3 separate regions of the Homo sapiens genome follow, and all the other regions are linked to region 3. The links are contacts of gene promoters, found by promoter capture Hi-C in blood cells and fetal thymus (Javierre and others, 2016). All regions are on one chromosome and are shown on one strand. The core of a region is centred on a gene start or on the middle of the fragment in contact, and the rest is flanking DNA. Distances in the headings are between cores, read along the strand shown.

Region 1 (4,048 bases), core at 1,161-3,660, 640 kb after region 3:
AATCCTTTCAGTGCCAGCATCGGGCTGATCAGCTCACAAAAATGCAGGATCCAGCTGCATGGCACCATGTGGCCAGCCAGATGGATGGAGGTTATTGAGGGCACAGCTCACCATACTCCAGGATCAGCCAAGCATTCCGGCAACAGGGCCACAAATTCACTGGATGCCCTTGGGCCAGTCAGCCCCTCCCAGAACCCAGCTTAGTCCACAGGGTTCTGAGGAAGAACGAATGAGACGCTGATTATCAACAGGCTTTGTCAACTACACAGCAGCTCTCCAGAGCCAACCACCACCGTCAACAGTGCCATCCTGCCAGCAAAGTGAAGACCCTCTTGAGAACAGGCTCTGTCTTTAAACAAATAAACTCTAGAAACTCTTGTAAGCCACCTGTTTCCAAACCAGGGAAAACGTCTGGCCTTCATTCCCACCAGCGTCATTCATATCCAACAAGGCCGTCTCCAACTAAGATACTCCCGCAAAACGCTCCTGCGGCATCTTCCAAAAGATTGCATCTGAGGAGGCACCCCTGTTGTTTTCATTGTTTAAAGCTGTCTGTGTGTGTGCACTACGTGGGCAGACTGTGCTGTGCTCGTCACAGCGTCGCCAGAGCCAGCCCAAAGCCTGGCAAACGGCAGGTCTCCAAATAAATGTTCAGATGAACAAACAAACGAGCGTCTCCAAAATCACAGTGCTACCCACAGACACTGTGGTCACAAAGGAACAGGCATTCACCTGAAGAGGAAACAGAAAAACAGGGAGAGTCTGGCCTTCAACACGAACCCTCTTCAGAAGTCAGAAGGCCTCGGGCTCCCTGCTCACAGGAACAGTGCGGCTCAATTCTAACTCTCACTACAACGCGGCTGACTCCACGGCTCCTACTCCATGAGGCTCTCAACTGACAACAGGAAACACCGCCCACCCTCCCCACACTTCGGGGCTGCTGAAACCTGCAGCGGGTCAGACAGCCCCAGGGACTTCCACCAGCAGGGTCCTGCCAAGGCGCCAGGTCCTCGCCCTGCGAATTCAGTGAGGAAAGAGGCCCCTTCACAATTGGCGGATGTGCTCCTCCCTGATGAAGACCTTCTGCGGCTCCTGTGACCTGCAGGACGCGGTCCAAACCACCCTCAGGACAGGACAGATCCCTGCCAACCTGTCCAGCTTCTGCCACATCCCAGGAGAACTGTGGTTAGAACCAGCTGGAGCCACACAACACTGTCCGAACACGCAGCATCTGGCCAACCTGTGTGCTGCCAGCACCCACCCTATCTGGAACATGCTGCCAGCCTCTCAAGTGTCATCTCTTCAGGAGCCACGCTTGACCTAGCAGACATATGCCCGGCTAGATCTGAGAGGACTGGAAAACAGCCCCTGACTTATAGCTGTATCCCCAGCACCCAGCACCAGGCCTGCACACCTATGTGTTCAAGAAGCACTCACCAGTGAAGAAGAGGAAGAAACCCCACTGCTCTGGAGGCTTCTAGCCTCTCCTCACTCCTCCTCTCATCTCCCGCCCCGACCCACGCATCACTCCGCCGACGCCTGGTACACACGACGTGCACTGCACAGCCACCTTCTCCCTGCACACGGGCCCAAGCTCGGACACAGGCACGACCAGGACTGGCGGGCTGCAGAGCTCTCTGACCCGGTGAGGCACTGGCCCTCAGGCTCAAAGCCACCTGCAAACGCCAAAATCCCTCCAGACTCGGGCCAGCTGTCTGCTCCTCTGGCTCTGCCACTCCCCTAGGCCGGCTCATCCCTGCCCCTCACTGGGCAGGCCAGCCCTAGGGCTCCTCTAGGAGCCATGCAGGCCTGACATCGGCTGCTGTCTGACACCTCCTTCTGGCTACATCACTGACACTTCAAACACACATTCCCAAAACAGAGTTCACAACCCCTCCCTGCCTGAGAGCCAAAACTGGTCCTAGCCCCCGGGTCCCAGCCCCCAGGTCCCAGCCCCCAGGCCCCAGCCTGTGACTGACCCCATCTCCCTGCACCCACAGGGCCCATCAGCCCCTCCTCTAAGAGCAGGCCTGGGAACAGGCCCAGGACGGGGCAACCACACCCAGTTCTGCCCCACAAGCGCCCCCGCTCATCCCAAGGTCCACCATGAGTTTGGGTTTTTTTTTTTTTTTTTGGAGGAAGGGTTATCTTTATATTTTTATTTTTAAAAATAGAGATAGGGTCTCACAGTGTTGCCCAGGCTGGTCTTGAACTCCCAGGCTCAAGCGATCCTCCCACTTCAGGCTCCCAAAGTGCTGGGATTACAGGTGTGAGCCAAGGCACCCAGCCCAGCGTGGATTTGTGCCAGGAAGAGCCAGCAGGAGCTGACCAGCCCCATGGAAGCCTCCAGGCCGGCTGCCTGCTCTCATCTCCCAAGAGCCCGCCTTTGCTTCTGCCAGCCACTCACGCTCTCCACAGGCTGCAGCCAGGTACACACCCCCCTTCAAGCAACAAAACCACTGCCTGAGCACCTGGCCTGCTCTAAGCCCAGGGCTGAGACAAGGGGGAGCCAGCCACACACAACACCAGGAGCGCTGGCATCGCCGGAGCAAGGAGCCCGTGATGGCCGTCCACCCGGGACAGCAATCGCGCTCTGCGGCACGAGGCTTTCAACAGAGGCGAGTGCTTCCTGGGGGTCAAGAGCATGGAACACACACTTCAGGCCCCCTCTCCAGGCTGCAGGCCAACAGGCGTCCATGAGACAGACACTCCCTGATGTGTCCCACTCAGTTCTCCTGCCGCTGAGTGACTCTCCCAGGGAGGCCCAGAGCCACATGCTCTTGGTAGCCCCTACTCCTCCAGGTGTTAAAGCAGGTGCCCATGTACAGTCCACAAGCACAGGCCATCAGGCTGGGCAAGGATGGGCAAGGAACCAGGCCCCTGCCCTTTGAGGCTCAGGAGCTCCAAGCTACAGAATAGGGTTCCAAAGCTCCAGCCACTCGGAGGACACACAGGCCACAGGAAGCCGGCGACCAGTCCACAGAGAGACGCGCTGTGGGGCCCGACAGGCTGAGGTCAGGCAGTGGGATCCCCCCTTCACAGTCCTCCCGGCCTTGGGCGGGGCTATCCAGGAGGGGGCTGCCCCTCCCTGCCAGAGTGCACTGGGGCCTGTATGATGCCAGCCTGAGAAAGATGCGCAACTCCAGCTCCACCTGCACGGAGATGCCCCACAGCAGATCCCTGCCAAAATGGCATTTGCAAAGCGAGGAAACTGAGCCCCAGGAAGGCCACAATGATCAAAAACGGTCTCACTGCAACTTCCAGATACATTTTCTAGGCCTCTGGTTTTGGCCTTTTTAAATGTTGGCATATGGACTAAGGAATGGAATACCTAACTGCTCTCCAAGAAAGGAGTTTGTTACTTCTGGGTCACAGATTCCACACGTTCACCTTTCTGGCCTTCATACCTCACGTGTCACAGCCAAGACTCCTAGGAGGTCCCCTGCCTGCCGTCATGAAGGGCGCCTGCAGCCTGGTGCGCCACCCCCACATGCCCTGCACGCGGCAAACCGCTCAATAAGGACTGCAGTGAACACTTTCTTTAAATCATTGATGGTTTTCTTAATCATCTTAGAATCACTCTGCTACACGGATGTCCCTGGAGTTTCGATTCCTAAATCAGCAGTCTTCCACTCCGCATCCGCGCCCCCGCAGTGCCCCGCCTGGCACGGGCAGGGGTGCCTCCCAGACAACGGAAACCAGACGAGGGCCAGGCCAGGCAGACACACCGGGCAGCCACTGAACTGCTGGGCCAAGACCTCCAGCCTCCCAAACCCAGATTCCTGGTCCTAGGAGACGGCTTTCTCAGCTGCAGCCCAGACTCCGCGGTAAGGCCACAACCCAACCCACCACCCACCTAGGTGCTTCCCAACGCCATGCTGGCCAGCAGGGCCCACACTCCGCACCATCCAGGTCAGCTGGACCAGTCCCCAGCTTAGGGCAGACAGTGAAGCCTGGATGAAAGGGATGGGAGAGCCCCCTGCAGTCACTGGTGACAAATCCCCCAGAGTTCCAGGAAGCCACACTCACAAAGGCCCGAGGGCAAGGG
Region 2 (4,019 bases), core at 1,203-3,702, 770 kb after region 3:
CTGGAGGATGCTGCAGGAGCCGCTAAATGATATGGCCCAGAAGTAAGACTCATTGCTGTTCACAACGCATTGGCCAGGACCAGTGATGTGGTCTCGCTCAACCTCAGAAGGACCAGAAGTGCAGTACTACCACGTGCCTGGCACGCCAGAAGCCAGGACAGCACCAAACACTAACCACGCTAACACGTATTGAATGCGTACTAGGAACTGAGTCTTCTTGGTTTTTTGTTTTTGTTTTGAGACCGACTCTTGCTCTGTTGCCCAGGCTTGAGTGCAGTGGCACCATCTCGGCTCACTGCAACCTCAGGTGGATCACCTGAGATCAAGAGTTCGAGACCAGCCTAGCCAACATGGTAAAACCCCGTCTCTACTAAAAATACAAAAATAAGCTGGGCATGGTGGTGCATGCTTCTAGTCCCAGCTACTTGGGAGGCTGAGGCAGGATAATCGCTTGAACCTGGGAGGCAGAGGTTGCAGTGAGCTGAGATCACGCCACTGTACTCCAGCCTGGGGTGGCAAGGGCAAGACTCCATCTCAAAAAAAAAAGAATTTATAAAAAAAGAATGTATCTCATCCTGGCCGGGGGCAGTGGCTCACGTCTGTAATCATAGCACTTTGAGAGGCCAAGGCAGGAGGGTTACTTGAGCCCAGGAATTCAAAACCAGCCTGGGCAACGTAGTGACACCCCATCTCTATTTTCTTTCTTTCTTTTTTTTTTTTTTTGAGACAGAGTTTCACTGTGTCGTCCAGGCTAGAGTGCAGTGGTGTGATCTTGGCTCACTACAACCTCCACCTCCCAGGTTCAAACAATTCTCCTGCCTCAGCCTCCCAAGTAGCTGGGATTACAGGCATGCGCCACCACGCCTGGCTAATTTTTTGTATTTTAGTAGAGACAGGGTTTCACCATGTTGCCCAGGGTGGTCTCGAACTCCTGAGCTCAGGCAATCTGCCCACCTCAGCCTCCTAAAGTGCTAGGATTACAAGAGTGAGCCACTGTGACTGACCTATTTTTCAAAAAAATAAAAATAAAAATAAACTAAGAATAAAAAAAATTTAGGAAGTGGTATGATCAGTACTTTGCAGGCAACCAAGACCAGAAAAGTTCAACACCCTAAGATCCCAGAGCTGAGATCCTAGCCTAGGCTGCAAGACACCATTCTCACAACCCTTGTGGGCATTTGCCCTGTGTTATAAAGCTACCAATTTCTTCTCAACACTCTTCCTTTTTTTAATTTTTTGAGACAGGGTCTTGCTATCACACCCAGGCCGGAGTGCAGTGGTAGGATCATGGCTCACTGCAGCCTCCGTCTCCTGGGTACAAGAGATCCTCCTTCCTCAGCCTGCTGCGTAGCTGGGACTGCAGGCATTGGCCATGTAGCCAGGCATGGTGGCACACGCCTGTAGTCCCAGCTACAGGCTATTTATTTTTTGTAGAATGGTGTCTCACTGTATTGCCCAGGCCAGTCTCAAGGACAGTCTCAAGCTATCCTCCTGACTTGGCCTCCCAAAGTGCCAGGATTACAGGCATGAGCCACCATGCCTGGCCCACTGCTTTTATAAAAAAATTTTTTTAGAGACAGAGTTTTGCTCTCTTGACTAGGCTAGGGCACAGTGGTGCAATCAGAGCTCACTGCAGCATTAATCTCCTGGGCTCAAGCAATCTTCCTGCCCCAGCCTCCCAAAGTGCTGGGACTGTAGGCATGCACCATCACGCCAGCGGCAGTGGAAAAGTTTTGAGGTGGATACAGAAAAAGCTTAGGTTTCCTGGAATTGGTTGTTACTAGAAATAGGGAAGTTAAAAACTCTGCTAGTGAGGACTTTTAGAAGGAAATGAGGAACGTGGTATAGAAAACCTAAATCATCTGGGAGGATGCCTAAATGGTCACAAACAGACTCTTGGTAACAATACAGACGTTAAAGGTGCTGCTGATGAGGGCTCAGAATGTAATGAGGAATATCAGGCCAGGTGGGGTGGCTCATGCCTGTAATCTCAGCACTTTGGGAGGCTGAGGTGGGCGGATTGCTTGAGCTCAGGAATTTGAGACCAGCTTGGGCAACATGGCAAAACCCCGTCTCTACAAAATATATATACAAAAAATTAGCTGGGTGTGTTGGCAAGCGCCTGTAGTCCCAGCTACTCAGGAGCTGAGGCATGAGAATTGCTTGAACTTGGGAGGCGGAGACTGCAGTGAGCCAAGATCGTGCCACTGCACCCCAGCCTCGGCAACAGAGCAAGACTCTGTCTCAAAAAAAATTTTTTTAAATAAAAATAAAAAAATAAAAGAAGGTAACAGGAATGTGTTCTTGGAAACTGGAGAAAGGGGGACCCCATTATGTAGTCTCAGAAATCTTAGCGGGAATGTATCTTTGAATTATATGCAAAGCCAAACTTATAAATTATAAACTTGGATATTTAACTAAGAAGACTTCCAAGCAAAGTATTGAAAGTGAGGCTTGGTTTTTTCTTGCTGCTTATAGTAAATGTAAGAGGAAAGAGATAAATCAGCCAGGCACGGTGGCTCATGCCTATAATCCCAGCACTGTGGGAGGCTGAGTTGGGAGGAATTCAGGAGTTCAAGACCAGCCTGGGCAAAATAGTGAGACCCCTGTCTCTACAAAAAATACACAAATTAGCCAGGCATGGTGGCACATGTCTGTGATCCTAGTTACTTGGGAGGCTGAGGCAAGAGGATCGCTCGAACCAGGGAGGCGGAGGTTGCAGTGAGCTGTGATCATGCCACTGAACTCCAGCCTAGCAAGAGAGTGAGACCCTGTCTCTTAATAAATAAAATAAAAGGGGCCGGGCACGGTGGCTCACGCCTGTAATCCCAGCACTTTGGAAGGCCAAGGCGGGCAGATCACGAGGTCAGGAGATCAAGACCATCCTGGCTAACGCGGTGAAACCCCGTCTCTACTAAAAATACAAAAAAATTAGCCGGGCGTGGTGGCGGGAGTCTGTAGTCCCAGCTACTCGGGAGGCTGAGGCAGGAGAATGGCTTGAACCCAGGAGGCAGAGCTTGCAGTGAGCCGAGATCACGCCACTGCACTCCAGCCTGGGCGACAGAGTCTCACTCCATCTCAAAAAAAAATAATAATAATTAATTGAATTAAATAAATTAAAGGGATAAAATGTTGTGACCAAATGAAATGCAAGCTTGGTTTAATATTTCAAAATAAATCAAGGTAATTCACCATATATATTAGTTTCCCTGGGGTGCCATAGAAAAGTATCGCCAGGGGCTGGGCACAGTGGCTCACACCTATAATCCCAGCACTTTGGGAGGCCGAGGCAGGCAGATCACTTGAGCTCATAAGTTCGAGACCAGCCTTGGCAAAATGGCAAAACCCTGCCTCTACAAAAGATAATATAAAAATTATTTTTTAAAAAATATTACGAACTTGGTGGCTTGAAACAACAGAAACATATTGTCTCAGAGTGCTTGAGGCTAGAAGTCTGAAATCAAGTTGCCGGCAGGGCCACGCTGTCTCTGAAACTCATAGGGGAGGATTCCTTCTTGCTTCTTCCAGCTTCTGGTGTTTGTCTCCTAGGGGGTTCCTGGTTTGTGAACACGTCACCTCAGTCTCTGCCTCTGTCATCACACAGCTGCCTTCTCCTTGTATGTCTGTCTTCACAAGGCATTTCCTTTTTCCTTTTATTTTCTTTTTTGTTTTGAGACAGAGTCTGGCTCTGTTGCCCAGGCTGGAGTGCTGTGGTGCAATCTCGGCTCACTGCAAGCTCCGCATCCTGGGTTCACGCCATTCTCCTGCCTAAGCCTCCCAAGTAGCTGGGACTACAGGCGCCCACCACCATGCCTGGCTAATTTTTTTATTTTTTTTTTGGAAACGGAGTCTCGCTCTGTCGCCCAGGCTGGAGTGCAGTGGCGCGATCTCGGCTCACTGCAAGCTCCGCATCTCTGGTTCATGCCATTCTCCTGCCTCAGCCTCCAGAGTCGCTGGGACTACATGTGCCCGCCACCATGCCCGGCTAATTTTTTGTGTTTTTAGTAGAGATGGGGTTT
Region 3 (4,357 bases), core at 484-2,983:
AAATCCCTGCAGCCGTGTGGCCCTCGCGGGCCTACACACGCACTCCCACCCCACCCCTGCGCACACCGCCCTGGCCTCTCTGTGTATCTGAGTCTCTCAGGAGGGTCCTGTCCCTGACTCCCTGCCCTCTCTGCCCAGCCCCTGCCCTCGGGCACCACTTCCTCCTTGCCCCTGCCTGGCCCTTCCTTGCCACAGCGCCTGGCCGCTTCTCTACCTGGGGGCTGTTCTGTTCCCACCTGGGGACTGCTCCGGGTCGGGGGCTGTGTGTGGCTTCGGGCTTGGGGAAGTTGCTTCTCGCCCATCTCCTGCACAGGAGTCCCGGTCCCTCTAACAAGCTGTGACCTTTGCTCCCCAGCTCCCTACAGAGCAAAGTCCAACCCCCTGCCAACCTCCCACCAGCCTTCTCCAGGGTGTCACGCCTCTGGAAGGAGAAGGCCCCTTCCCCTTTCCAGCTATGTGAGCCTGGGAAAGACCTCTGGTCTCTCTGAGACTCAGTCTTCTTGTCTGTGAAATGGGACCACACTGCAGACCTCAGTGAGCCGAGTGACGAGCCTGTGAAATAGCCAGGGGTGCCCGGTGGGCGCTCTGCCCTCAGCCTGGCAGAGATCTCCCCATTTTCAGGCCCAGCTCCCACATGCCACATCCTGGGGAAGCTCATCCCCTCCCCCGTGCCCTGGCCGATCCCACTTCTGACAGCGTCTATAGCAGCGGCACCCAGGGGGACCGGGCTGAGCCACGGCCACGTCCTGTGGAGACCAAGGTCCTGAAGGAGGCTCGGGGGCGGAAGGGCTTACCTGGTGGCAGGTGAGCACCAGGGCAGTCCACACGAAGATCCCCGAGACGCCTCGGGCCAGTGCGGAGGTGAGGAAGAGCCAGGGGGCCCCCTGGGAGCTGTTCCCCATGTGGTCCATCTGCGGCCCAGCTGGCACAGCCGGTGGGGGGCTGGGCTGCGGCCAGTTCGCTGACACCAGGGGGACGCCGGCTGTCTCCAGGATCCCTGAGACATTACTCATCTGCAGAGGGAGGGAGGACACACACCGGGAGGAGTGAGGGCAAAGGTACTGGCTCCCGGCAGCAGGAAGCAGCGGGGGAGGGAGGAGACAGTGAGACGGGAGCTGAGGCTGAGCCACCCACCAGGCCGCACCCCCCACACGGACACCAGCGCCAGGCCCGGCTCCCTCCCTGCTCCGAGCTCAGCCATCGAAGCTCACCCATCAACCACCTGCGACCTGAGGGTCCCACCTCAATTCCCCCTTGTAAAACCAGCTTCCAACTCCGAGTCTCAGGCTTGCAGGGAGCCTGCTTCTTAGGGGACAAAGACCGTCTTCCAGTGGGGCAGAAGAGGGGGAACCCCTGCCGCCCTGCCTGCCCGGGAGGGCTGGGGAGCGGGCGCAGACCAGCACTGCCTGCCCCGGCAGGAGGGGGTGTGCAGCCACCCTCATGGGAGGAGCCGGCCCTCACTGGCTCTGGGACCTGTCCACCCACCTGGGAGCCCGGCTTTGCTGGGGTTCTTGGCAGCCCTGGGTGCCTGTTCCATCTCCCACTAACCTGCTGGGGCCCTGAGTCCACCCTCTCCCACACTCGCAGCCCAGTCCAGCCTCCTCCTCTCCCTCTGGTCTGCGGTCACAGGGCCCAGCTCTACCTTTGCTGGCAGGAAGCACCTGGCCCAGTCCAGGGAGGCCTGGCCTCCAGGGAAGCCTAGCTGGTCATTCTCATGGCCACGTGGCCCCAACTGGAGGCCCCACTGTGGGTGCGGCAAGGCCAGGATCTGAAGGGCTGTGCCAGGCTGGGGCGGGGCGGCCAGTGCCTCACGTCCCCAGTGGCCCACCTGGGCCCCAGGCTGCAGGCCCGTCCCCTCCTGTCCCCTCCCACGGCTGACACCCTATCCTCCCGGTTGTTTGCTGGGTGGCAGCTGGCTCCCAGGAACCTGCTGGCCGCCTGGCGCCCTCACCTGCCTATGCCAGACGGCCAGGCAGCTGCCACCTGGTGGGGACACGTGGGAGAGGTCTGCGGCAGGCCAAGGAGGGCCGGGCTGCAGGAGGAGGGGTGGAGAGCTAATGGTACAGGGTTTCTCTGGGGGGTGACAGGAGTCCTGAAATGAGGTAGAGGCGGCAGGCACACAGCACTGTGGATATACTTACCGCCACCGAATCGTTCACTTAAACCTGGGTAAATTGATGTTATGTGAATTTCATCTGAATTAAAAAAAAAATCCACGCCCCAAGAGATGAGTTGAAAACATTTGTTTTCTGGGCCGGGCGTGGTGGCTCACGCCTGTCATCCCCACACTTTGGGAGGCCAAGGTGGGTGGATCACTTGAGGTCAGGAGTTCGAGACCAGCCTGGCCAACATGGTGAAACGCCGTCTCTACGAAATACGCAAAAATTAGCTAGGTGTGGCAGCGTGCACCTGTAATTCCAGATACTCAAGAGGCTGAGACAGGAGAATCGCTTGAACTCAGAAGGCGGAGGTTGCAGTAAGCTGAGATCACACCACTGCACTCCAGCCTGGGGACAGAGGGAGACTCTGTGTCCAAAAAAAAAAAAAAAAAAAAAAGGAAATATTTCTGGTTTTTGTGGATCAAGGCAGGAGAGGGGGAGTGACAGCCCAGTCCCTGGACCCTTTGGGGTCTGGCAAGGGGTTGCGGGGCCCTGAGGGTCCCTGTCACCCCCATGCAGAGGCCCCTGTGGAGAAAAAACTCACTCACCCCGGCTCCTGGGAGAGGGATGTGGGCCCTCAGCCCACCTCTTGTCCTGTTCTGGTTACGCTTGGGCTCATGCCGCTGGGGCCACCATTACCAAGTCCCGCTCCATGCCCGCAACGGATCCACACACTCCTTGTCCTTCATATCTCCTACCCTCCCACAGCCCTGAGCAACAGGGCTCAAGGGGTTGAGGCTGGAATGACTGGAGCCACTGTTCCCCTTTTATTTTTAATTAATTTATTTTTTGAGACGGAGCCTCGCTCTGTCGCCAGGCTGGAGTACAATGGCGCGATCTCGGCTCACTGCAACCTCCGCCTCCTGGGTTCAAGTGATTCTCCTGCCTCAGCCTCCCGAGTAGCTGGGATTACAGGCGCCCACCACCACACCTAGCTAATTTTTGTATTTTTAGTAAAGACGGGGTTTCACCACGTTGGCCAGGCTGGGCTTGAACTCCTGACCTCAGGTGATCTGCCCGCCTCAGCCTCCCAAAGTGCTGGGATTACAGGTTTGAGCCACCACGTCCGGCCTGTTCCCCTTTTAGAGATGGGAACGAGAGGCGCATCAACGCGTCCAGCATCCTTGAGGGGTCCGTGAGGGGCCCGGGCTGAGGCCCATCCTTCCCTGGGACACCCTGCCTGCTTTTCCCAACTCCTCCACTGACACTGTCCCTCCAGGGAGGCTCCCAGGTGGGGAACAAGCTCAGGAAGTCGTGCCCAGCTCTCAGGCCCGCCTTGCCTAACCTCCCCATCAGCGCCCACCCGGGCCCGGGCCCAGAGCCACAGCATGCACACCCTGGCTGGGCCCTCCTGGAGCCTGCCTGCTCCCCAGGCAGGGACCTTCTGGACCAACCGACCCTGCTCCCGGGTGACTCTGTCCTGCAGCCTCAGGCGTCACCTCTGGAGAGACCATCCCCGCTGTCCCATCACCCTCCTCACTGTGTGTGTGACTCCCTGTCCACCTGTCTGTGTTTGCTGCTGGTCCTCCCTCTGCAGGAGCTGCCAGAGCCTAGAGCTGTGCCCTGTCCATGCTCGGGGCACAGGGCTTGCGGGGTGGGGGCTGTCCTGCTGAGGCGGTGACCCTGTGGGCTAAGGTCTCCCTTTGGCCAGGCAGGGGTGCTGGAAGGCGGTCCCCAACTTCCATCCAGCTGCATTCCCACTGCAGCCACAGGTACTCCTGCCGGCCTCCCACCCGGCCTGCAGAGCCCCAGGCAGTCGGCTCAGCGCGTGTGGATGTCGCCCTCTGGCTGTGTCGGGATCACCGTCACGGACAACTATGAAGTGACGATGGCTGGGGGCCCGTTTGAAGGGTGAAGACTTTGGTGCCTGGGCATGCGCAGAGCTGGAAGGGACCGGGAATCCCCTCATCCAACTCGCTCATGCTACAGGCAGGGAAACTGAGGCCCCAGCCCCTGCTTGATTTGCGTCCAGCCCCCAGCACAGGATGAAGCCTCGGGCCCCTCCCTGGGCTGACGGTGGGAATGGCTGTGCAGACAGCAGGAGGCACTGTGGCTAGATGTCAGCAGGACCGTTTTGGCTGGAGCCAGCAGAGCCAGGCTTCTGGGAGGGCTCTGGCTTCGGGCAGGCTCAGGGCTTGGGCCCCGGACACAGACTGAGGGACCTCCAAAGCTCTGTCTTCCGCCAGAGGCAGATCCTC

The links. Contacts are between HindIII fragments. The CHiCAGO score rates a contact against its expected background, and 5 or more counts as called.
Region 1: a contact is called between a fragment that was not itself captured here and the fragment with the promoter of TMEM184A in region 3, in 1 of 17 cell types (M0 macrophages). The highest score is 5.9, in M0 macrophages.
Region 2: a contact is called between a fragment that was not itself captured here and the fragment with the promoter of TMEM184A in region 3, in 2 of 17 cell types (monocytes and M0 macrophages). The highest score is 5.5, in monocytes.

What each region holds. Positions count from the first base shown.
Region 1 is chr7:2,195,967-2,200,014 of GRCh38, forward strand. The region is part of intron 10 of MAD1L1 (mitotic arrest deficient 1 like 1); the gene reads right to left. It overlaps LOC105375126 (a long non-coding RNA gene), which reads left to right and starts at 3,752. Exons shown (of 3, transcript XR_001745062.3): 1 at 3,752-3,827. The HindIII fragment of the contact is 6,509 bases long and covers 1-4,048 here.
Region 2 is chr7:2,323,586-2,327,604 of GRCh38, forward strand. It overlaps a transcript of SNX8 not described here. Among named protein-coding and RNA genes, the nearest start is that of SNX8, 11 kb to the left of the region's middle. The HindIII fragment of the contact is 1,400 bases long and covers 1,753-3,152 here.
Region 3 is chr7:1,554,472-1,558,828 of GRCh38, forward strand. It overlaps TMEM184A (transmembrane protein 184A), which reads right to left and starts at 1,734. Exons shown (of 9, transcript NM_001097620.2): 1 at 1,643-1,734; 2 at 795-1,013. The coding sequence starts at 1,013. RefSeq lists silencers at 260-442, 1,810-1,879, 1,920-2,009 and enhancers at 552-1,352, 922-1,216, 1,353-2,152. The HindIII fragment of the contact is 30,451 bases long and covers 1-4,357 here.